Linked DNA regions of Homo sapiens: regions 1 and 3 are each linked to region 2. Evidence: promoter capture Hi-C in 16 types of primary human blood cells and fetal thymus (Javierre and others, 2016). All regions are on one chromosome and are shown on one strand. The core of a region is centred on a gene start or on the middle of the fragment in contact, and the rest is flanking DNA. Distances in the headings are between cores, read along the strand shown. Region 1 holds the start of DBT (dihydrolipoamide branched chain transacylase E2). Region 2 holds the start of SLC71A1 (solute carrier family 71 member 1). Region 3 has its middle 34 kb from the start of FRRS1.

What was found. Contacts are between HindIII fragments. The CHiCAGO score rates a contact against its expected background, and 5 or more counts as called.
Region 1: the fragment with the promoter of DBT here is called in contact with the fragment with the promoter of SLC71A1 in region 2 in 4 of 17 cell types (activated CD4 T cells, naive CD8 T cells, non-activated CD4 T cells and 1 more); the score reaches 7.7 in activated CD4 T cells.
Region 3: a contact is called between a fragment that was not itself captured here and the fragment with the promoter of SLC71A1 in region 2, in 1 of 17 cell types (erythroblasts). The highest score is 8.0, in erythroblasts.

Annotation. Positions count from the first base shown.
Region 1 is chr1:100,248,024-100,251,087 of GRCh38, forward strand. DBT (dihydrolipoamide branched chain transacylase E2) reads right to left here and starts at 1,811. Exons shown (of 11, transcript NM_001918.5): 1 at 1,747-1,811. The coding sequence starts at 1,797. RefSeq lists enhancers at 980-1,539, 1,540-2,099, 1,701-1,820 and a silencer at 1,931-2,030. The HindIII fragment of the contact is 8,889 bases long and covers 1-3,064 here.
Region 2 is chr1:100,036,240-100,039,415 of GRCh38, forward strand. It overlaps SLC71A1 (solute carrier family 71 member 1), which reads left to right and starts at 1,856. Exons shown (of 12, transcript NM_033055.3): 1 at 1,856-2,077. The coding sequence starts at 1,994. LOC124904230 (a long non-coding RNA gene) reads right to left here and starts at 1,769. Exons shown (of 7, transcript XR_007066251.1): 1 at 1,491-1,769. RefSeq lists enhancers at 1,328-1,930, 1,893-2,172 and silencers at 1,653-1,832, 2,293-2,482. The HindIII fragment of the contact is 6,938 bases long and covers 538-3,176 here.
Region 3 is chr1:99,799,461-99,802,494 of GRCh38, forward strand. No RefSeq gene overlaps it. Among named protein-coding and RNA genes, the nearest start is that of FRRS1, 34 kb to the left of the region's middle. The HindIII fragment of the contact is 1,302 bases long and covers 799-2,100 here.

The sequences.
Region 1 (3,064 bases), core at 561-3,060, 210 kb after region 2:
ACTGGGAGGCAGGGGTTGCAGTGAGCCAAGATCGCACCACTGTACTCCAGCCTGGGTGACAGAGAGAGACTCCATTTCAAAAAAAAAAAAAAAAAAGACAAGTTTTTCTAAGCTCCCTTGTGCTAGCCGGGGCCATGTAACACAGTTCTGGCCAGTGAGACTGGAACCTCCTCCTCTTCCACCTTCCTGCCTTCAACATAAAAGAAGAAGTCGTAGCAGCCCTCTTGTATACAGTAGGAAAAGGACAAATGAACTACTAGGGAAATGACGACATTGATAATCATAAGCCACTTAATGTGAGCTGACATCTAATTGGGGATGCTCTGTATGCATGGATACTTAATTTCCTATTTATTGGTTGGGTTTTTAATTGCAGCTGGAAAACATCACGTACATATGAAACTGGAGATTTCCAGGACAGTAGGATATATGGGTTTGGAGTAGACCTGGTTGGAAGACTGGGGAACTTTAGGACTCATCAGCATAGATGGTAACTAAAGCCAAAGAGTGGATGGGATAACCCAGAAAGTGGGAAAAGTGCAGAGGGCCAAAGTCAGAGCCCTTTAGAAAAAGCAATATTTAAAAGGCGGGAAGGGAAACAGGATATTGGGATGAAGTGGCCAAAGATGAAGAAAGAATAATATTGGGAAACTGGTGTCACAGAAAACAAGAATGGAAAGCTCTAGAAAGAAGAGAGACCAATATGTGTTAAGTGTTGCTGAGAAGAGCTCTCTTCTCCTGGTTATCTCTTACTTATCCTTCTTACATCTCAAGTCATACAGTATCCTCTGGGAACTCCTCTGACCCCCAAGTCCACCATAGGTGTCCACTCCTGTGTGTTCCTGTAGTTCTAGGCACTTGTCCCATCACAGTACCTCTCATGCTGGGTTGTAATTTCTATCTGTCTCCCTCTCCTTTGTCCTCCACCACAAGGTTGTAATCTCTTGAGAAGGAAGATATGATGTCTATTTCATATTTGTATCTCCAGTGCCTAACACAGCACTGGTACATAGCAGGCTCTTGAAAGTTTTTGTAAGATCGGGGTCACCAAGGCAGGAGCATCTAGGGAAAGGGAGAAGAGGCAGGAAGAAGAAACACTAAGCAAATAGGGGTAACAAGTATCATTACCGGTATGTGTCAGTGCTTGGTGCTAAGACTGGGAGAAAGAGAAGGAAGTGCAGGGGAGATGGTGATGGGTCACAGCCTTGGTGACAAAAGGGTAGGAATGATATGTGGTGCGGACATAGAAGTACAAGGCAAAAGAGTGACGCCGAGCTGCTCAGTTCTTCGGAAGCAGGGACCCCTGCTGATATTCTATAACTTGAACGGCCTCTTCCTCTACACACTGTAGATTCCTTGAGGGTAGGGGTCGTGTTACCAGTGTTTGGCATACTGTGGGTACGCAATAAATGCTAAACGAATATATCTCTGGATCCACAGCGCCTATCACAATGCCTGGGCACCTGGAAGGCGCTCAATAAAACGCTAGCTGGGCCTCGGGGTACAGATGGAGCAGGACGGCTGAGTCGCTGCAGAAGCGCTTCCAGGTAAGGGGAGGGAGTGGGTTTCCACTCCAGACTGGTCGACTCGCTCCGTTCTCTGCCCTTTATTTTGCATGCATCCCTTCACCTCTCCATCACGCGTGCCCTGGACGCCTGGCACCGGAGGAGAAAGTAAAACACCACTCCTGGATGACTCCGGACAAATCACTCCTTCCCGGCCTCAGATCTGCCCAAACGTGCTTACCAGCTTCCCCGCATTCCTGCTCCAGGTTCTCAGCATACGGACTGCAGCCATCTTACCCCGGAAATGACAACAGTGCCGCAAACTGGAGAGACTCTCCTCGGCGCGGCCTATCAGGAGATGGGAAACGCGCCTCCCCCTGGGCGACCAATAGGGAGGGAAGAAACGAGCCTCCCACCCAACAGCCAACCAAGGAGTAGGGCGGAGCCTGAGCTAAACCCTAGGATCTGGGACCCAGCGGGGAGTGAAAAGAGCCTGGGGGACGGAGGCGGGGCAGAGGGCAGCCCAAATTTAACACTGCTGTGTAAATACAGATGCACCAAAGATAATCTTTTTAGTGTATGTGATGGGGAAAATAGAGAGTGTTAAGGAAACACAAAGAAAGGTACTTACCTCAAGAAAGTTATGTTGCAGTAGGACCTGAGCGATGAGTTGGAAAACATTTCCCCGTCTTCATCTTGTAGTGTAGCCGCCCCAAATACAGAAAATAGAATATTTCTATACGTTGTAGCAAGGCTCTGGACAACTAGTTGTTTCACAAGTCCATACAGCAGTACTTCCCAATGACTGCCTTTTTTACTCCCATTTATGTTTTTGATTACCAAAATTGGCTAATCAATTTTTTTCATGAAAGATGAACATTACCTAATGTCTAAAATAAACATGTTATCATCTTTCTTTTTACAGACTGCTATCAGATGCAGCTAACTAGCATATGCAATACATGTCACAGACACATGATCTTGATTTAGTTGTCTCTTAAAGAAATGTCAAATTCAGGTCAAGTGGAACTGGTAAAGAACAGATCAGAGCTTTCTTTTAAAAGGCAATCTTCCTCAGAGCAACTAGGAAACCAATTCCTGGAAATGTCCAGGATGACATTAGTCTGTTATTGCTTCTTACGTGGGAATGAAAATCTGCACAGATGTCTAAGGAATTACAGAGAAAAAAAACTGGAACAAATACATTTTAAATGCTCAACATTGAAGATTAGTGGTTATGAAACAAAATCTCAGGTATTTCACAACTTCATTGTTTAATATGACCCAAACACTTTTCCCCCTCATTTGCCATTTTATGTATTACACATCTACACACAAAAAATCAATGCAAACAATAAATCTTATTATCTTTTTTGTTTGTTTGTTTGTTTGGTAGAGATAGGGTCTCTTGGGCCAGGCGTGGTGGCTCCTGCCCATAATTCCAGCACTTTGGGAGGCTGAGGCAGGCAAATGGCTTGAGCTCAGAAGTTCAAGATGGGATCTCTCTATGTTGCCCAGGCTGGTCTCAAAGTCCTGGTCTCAAACTGCGATCTTCCCAT
Region 2 (3,176 bases), core at 606-3,105:
AACACGGTGAAATTCCATCTCTACTAAAAATACAAAAAAAATTAGCCAGGCATGGTAGTGGGGACCTGTAATCCCAGCTACTCGGGAGGCTGAGGCAGGAGAATCACTTGAACCTGGGAGCTGGAAGTTGCAGTGAGCCAAGTTGGCACTATTGCACTGCAGCCTGGGCAACAAGAGCAAAACTCTGTCTCAAAAAATAAATAATAAAAAAAGTTTCAAAATGAGAATATATGTTTCAAAACAAGTATAATGAATATACTTATTGATTGGAAAATATAATTAGAAGTATCTATCAGGCTATAAATTGCTTTTCTTCTCCCTTCCATGGAAATTAGTTTTTTTTTCCATTTTTAGTCAGTATGAAAATACAAGGAAAAGGAAATTCAATCAAATTTACTTTTTAACATTTTATTTGGAAATAATTTCAAACTTACAGAAAAGTTGCAAAAACAGTACAAAGAACTCATACATTCATTTACTGTTTTTCCTTTTACCCTATATATTAGTTATTTATAGCTGTGTAACAAATAACCCCAAAGCTTAGTGGCTTACACCAAGTACTTTTCATCTTACACTGTTTCTGAGTCAGGATTCCAGGAGTGGCTAAGCTAGGTGGTCCTACCTCTGGGTCTCTCATGAAGTTGTAGTCAGCCAAAGGCTTGACCAAGGTTGGAGGATCTACTTCCAAAGTGACTCACTCCGTGGCATTTGGTAGGAGGCTACAAACAGTTCCTGGACAACTGGATCTCTCCATAGGCTGCTTGAGTGTCCTGAAAACACGGAAGCAGGCTTCCCCAGGCTCCAAGCCCCAAAATGAATGAAAAAGAGACCCGCAAAGGAAGATGCAGTGCCTTTTATGACCTAGCCTCTGAAGTCAATACTGTCACTTCTGTTTTGATCTATCAAGAGTCACTAAGCCTAGTCTACACTCAAGGGGAGGGGAATTAGAGTCCACCTCTTCCAGGGAGGAATATCATTGAATCTGTGAACATATCTTAGAACTACCATACCTAGTTTCAGTACTTTTAAACATTCGCCATTTTGCTTTGTCCCTCTCTTTTCCCCACCTACATATACATACACATACATGTTACTCCCTAACCATCTGAGAGTAGGGAGCATGCGGTGTATCCCTATCCCTCGTGTTTTTCTCTTAAGGAAAAGGATATTCTATTATACAACACGGTAGTTATCAATATCTAATTTTAACATTGTGATACTTTAAAGTCCACTTCCACTTGTGTAAATTGCCCTTTCTAGCAATGTTCCCATCAAATTTATTTTTAAACAATACAGTAAAAACGTAGAGGGCCACAAAGGGTGACATCGGTCAGGTAAGGTATTTTTTTTGGCAGGGAATAAAAAAGGTCCTGGGTCTAGGGAGGTAAACAAGCGTGAGCCAGCTGAGTTCTAGCGGGGGTCCCTGAACACCAAAAGGACAAGACTGTTTCTGAAACACTACATTATCTCTTAAGTTACCCATTACTTACGGAAAATGATTTTTTACTGTTCCCTTCGGTTCCTGTCTTGGTTAGAACACAGCTGGAGATTGTGTTAATAGCTTAGGACGTCTGTTTCCGTGAGCAGGTAACAACTTTTTGAAACAAATTCCCTCATCTGCTGAAGAAGGGGGACAAAAACGGCCCCTATCGCCCAGAACCGTTGCGAGGATTTAGCTAGCTGGTGACGCCGGAGCACGAAGTTGTACAGGTAGCCAGCAGCACCCACGCGAGCCCGCGGTTACCCTGGCCGCGCGGCTACTGTAGAGTGGGCTGGCGGCGAGCGGGCGGGGCGGTATCACGCGGGAGGGGCGGGGCCCGCTCGTCGGCTGATCGCACGATTGTGACGCGCCGCCGGAGGCAGGCCGGGCCCTCAAGATGGCGGCGGGCGCCCAGAGCGGCTCGGCCCGGCAGTAGTGGTGGGACGGCACTAGCTGCTGGGGCCTGCCGCCCCGGGAGTGGCTGCAGCAGCGCCAGGAATCGAGGATGGTAAAATGACCCAGGGGAAGAAGAAGAAACGGGCCGCGAACCGCAGTATCATGCTGGCCAAGAAGATCATCATTAAGGACGGAGGCACGGTGAGCTGAGTTCCGCGCCGGCGAGCGTCCCTCGGGGCCCCCATCCGGTCTCTCCTTCAGACCCCCACACTGCCGTCTCTAGGCGTCCCGGTGCCTCCCTCCCTTCCCCCACCCTGTCCGAGCTGCCGGTGCCTCGGGGTCGCGGACCCGCATGCCGCCGCTCCGGGAATCGTCCTCCGCTGCTCGGGCTTGCGGCCTCCGGGGCCCGTCCTCTTTCTTTCCCGCACCTGCCGCCCTCTGCTCTGGCCGCCTCTGCAGGCCCTGCGGCCTCGAACCCCACGTGCGCCTCCGCCGCGGGGAGGAATGTGCGGGGCTCCCCCGGCGGCCCGCCCGCCGCGCCCCTCGTCGCCGCAGCCTCGCCTCGCCTTCGCCGCCAGGCCCCGCGGAGCCGTCGCCGCGCTTGTCAAGGGGCTGGGAACCATCCCTGCTCTCCCATATGTTGCTAACGGGGTGGCGTCTGGCGCGGGGATCCCGCTGCGGCCCCGTAGTACGTTCGCTTTCTGTTTCCACGTCTCTCTGCGTCGGTGCTCCGGCTCTGGGCTGCTTACAGTAAACCCTGACCGGAGATGGGCTTCCCTCACTTCCCGGAGTCGGAAGCATGACGGCAGACACCTGGGGCCTACATTCGAACCTGCTAGTTTTCAAAGAAAAGTCATCACTGTGTGTCTTAAGATCAAAAGTATTAGAATCAGTCATGGCCTAAGGATCGGAGGAGGACACTTTGAAGGGAAGAAAGGTTTGCTTTTTAGAAACAGTTGTCATCACAGTAAACTTTATGCAGTGTGTAGTTAACCAGCTGGGGACGTAGGATTTTTAATTGAAAAACAAAACAAAACAAAACTGTTTTATGCTAACATTTCTCCGTTGCTACACTGTGTGGTCTTTGTTGCATCCGCTGATACCGCGTTCTGAAATAGAATGGAAAGGTGATATATATGTTTCACTTACCTGAAGTGTGCAGAAATTGTACCATTAATTCCATTTCTGTTTATATCTTATTGGAGCCGCGATCAACTGCTAGCACAGTAGTAAATGTGTAAGTAGGCCACCATTGAGGATTTGCTGAATTCAGTTGAAAAACGTGACAAAATTTTATGAC
Region 3 (3,034 bases), core at 200-2,699, 240 kb before region 2:
ATATCCTGAAAAGTGTTTTCTAACTTGGTTCCATTCCCCCCGTCACTTTCAGGAACACCAAGCAAACACAGATTTGGTCTTTTCACATAGTCCCATATTTCTTGGAGGCTTTGTTCATTTCTTTTCACTCTTTTTTTCTCTAATCTTGTCTTCTTGCTTTATTTCATTAATTTGATCTTCAATCACTGATATCCTTTCTTCCACTTGTTCGACTCGGCTATTGAAGCTTGTGTATGCTTCACGAAGTTCTCATACTGTGATTTTCAGTTCTATCAGGTCATTTAAGGTCTTCTCTACACTAGTTATTCCAGTTAGCCATTCGTCTAACCTTTTTTCAAGGTTTTTAGCTTCCTTGCAATGAGTTAGAACATGATCCTTTAGCTCAGAGAAGTTTGTTATAACCGACCTTCTGAAGCCTACTTCTGCCAACTCGTCAAACCCATTCTCCAACCAGTTTTGTTCTCTTGTTGGTGAGAAGTTGTGTTCCTTTGGAGGAGAAGAGGTGTTCTAGTTTTTGGAATTTTCAGCCTTTCTGCTCTGGTTTCTCCCCTCTTTGTGGTTTTATCTACCTTTGGTCTTTGATGTTGGTGACCTATGGATGAGGTTTTGGTGTAGATGTCCTTTTTGTTGATGTTGATGCTATTCTTTTCTGTTTGTTGGTTTTTCTTCTAACAGAGAAGCCTCTCAGTTGCAGGTCTGTTGGAGTTTGCTGGAGGTCCACTCCAGACCTTGTTTGCCTGGGTATCACCAGCAGAGGCTGCAGAATAGCAAATATTGCTGCCTGATCCTTCCTCTGGAAGCTTCATCCCAGAGGGGCACCCACCTGTATGAGGTGTCTGTCAGCCCCTACTGGGAGGTGTCTCCCAGTCAGGCTACACAGGGGTCAGGGACCCACTTGAGGAGGCAGTCTGTCTGTTATTGCAGCTCGAATGCCGTGCTGGGAGAACAACTGCTCTCTTCAGAATGGTCAGGCAGGGATGTTTAAGTATGGAGAAGCTGTCTGCTGCCTTTTGTTCAGATATGCCCTGCCCTCATAGGTGGAATCTAGAGAGGCAGTAGGCCTTGCTGAGCTCCAGTGGGCTCCACCCAGTTCGAGCTTCCCTGCCACTTTGTTTACACTGTGAACATAGAACCACCTACTCAAGCCTCAGCAATGGTGGACACCCCTCCCCCCACCAAGCTCCGGCATCCCAGGTTGATCTCAGACTGCTGCGCTAGCAGCAAGCAAGGCTCTGTGAGCATAGGACCTGCTGAGCCAGGCACAGGAGGGGATCTCCTGGTCTGCAGGTTGTGAAGACCATGGGAAAAGTGCAGTATTTGGGCAGAAGTGTACCACTCCTCCAGGTACAGTCACTCACGGCTTCCCTTGGCTAGGAATGGGAAATCCCCCAACCCCTTGCATTTCCCCGGTGAGGCAATGCCCCACCCTGCTTCAGCTTGCCTTCCATGGGCTGCACCCACTGTCCAACCAGTCCCAATGAGATGAATCAGGTACCACAGTTGGAAATGCAGAAATCACCCATCTGCTTTGTCAATCTTGCTGGGAGCTATAGACCAGAGCTGTTCCTATTTGGCCATCTTGGAAGTGACCAGTGCCCCTAAAGTCTTAACGCATTCCAGTTTCAACTCTAAAGTCTAACATTTAAAGTCTAATATTTTTTCTTAACTTAATAAGGTTTTCTTTAACTTTTGTTTTAAGTTCAGAGGTACATGTGCAGGTTTGTTATTAAAGTCTCTCTAAAAATCATCTAAACTGGATATTGCCGAGACTTGAGATGTAATTCATTATGAGGCAAAATTTTTCTCCAGCTGTGAACCTTTGAAACCAAATATGTTATCTGATTCCAAAATACAATAGTGGGACAGACATAGAATAAACATTCCCATTCCAAAAGAAGAAGCAGGAAAGAAGGAAAGGTAGTTGGTTTCAAGCCAGTTCAAAACCCAACAAGGTATTCCATGAGATCTTAAGCCCGGAGAATAATCCTCTTCAACACTCTGCCTTCTAGGCCTGGTGGTGTTGGGGTGAGGGGGTCATCCCCCTAAGGCTGTACATGGTGGTCTTGGCCCCACAGCTCTGCAGAGAGGTCCTGGCTCCCAAGCTTTGGTCAGAGGCCACCTGGCCTTTTAAAACTGAATGGTGACCGTGATAATCTCTGAATTGCCTTCAGGGCAATTTTTCTCTGTCTTTGAACAGTGCACGTTTATACCCAGATAGCTCTATCGTCTTGTCTTTCAAAATCTAAGAAGTCAAATATCCTTTCTTCATTTTGTCCAACCTCCATCCCTCAGTTCAAGCTGACAGTGCTTCTGCTCCTATAATATCATAAACTCTTTATTGAGTGAAAGTCCAGCCACACCCTTGGTGTTCCTTTCAGAATATGTTTTTGCATTTTTTGCAATATCAATAGGCTGAATTTTCCAAATATTTAAGATCTAGTTCCTTGTTGCTTAACAATCCTTTCTTCAGTTCATCTCTGTCCTCTCACATATTACTATAAACAGTCAGGAGGAACTAAGATACTCCTTCAACACTTTGCTTAGAAATATTCTCAGGGAAATTTCCAGTTTCATTGCTTACCAGTTCTACTTTCCAAAAAAACACTAGAACACAAACACAATTCAGTCAGGTTATTTCCCTCTTTATAACAAGGATTGCCTCTCCTTCAGGTTCCTACATGATCTTTGTTACCATCTGAGACTTCACAAGAATCACCCTTAATATCTATATTTATAGTATGCACCTTAAAACTCTTCCAGCCTCTACCCATTACCCATTTCCAAAGCAACTTCCACATGTTTAAGCATTTGTTACAGCAGCACCTCACTTCTCAGTATCAAAATCTGTATTAGTCTGGGTTATCCATAGAAACAGAACTGCTAAGAGATATAAATAGATAGATATAAAGAAGCTTATAAGAAATTGGGCCAGGTGAAGTGGCTCACACCTGTAATCCCAGCACTTTGAGAGGTCGAGGTGGGCGGATCACTTGAGGTCAGGAGTTCAAGACCAGCCTGGTCAACATGGTGAAAC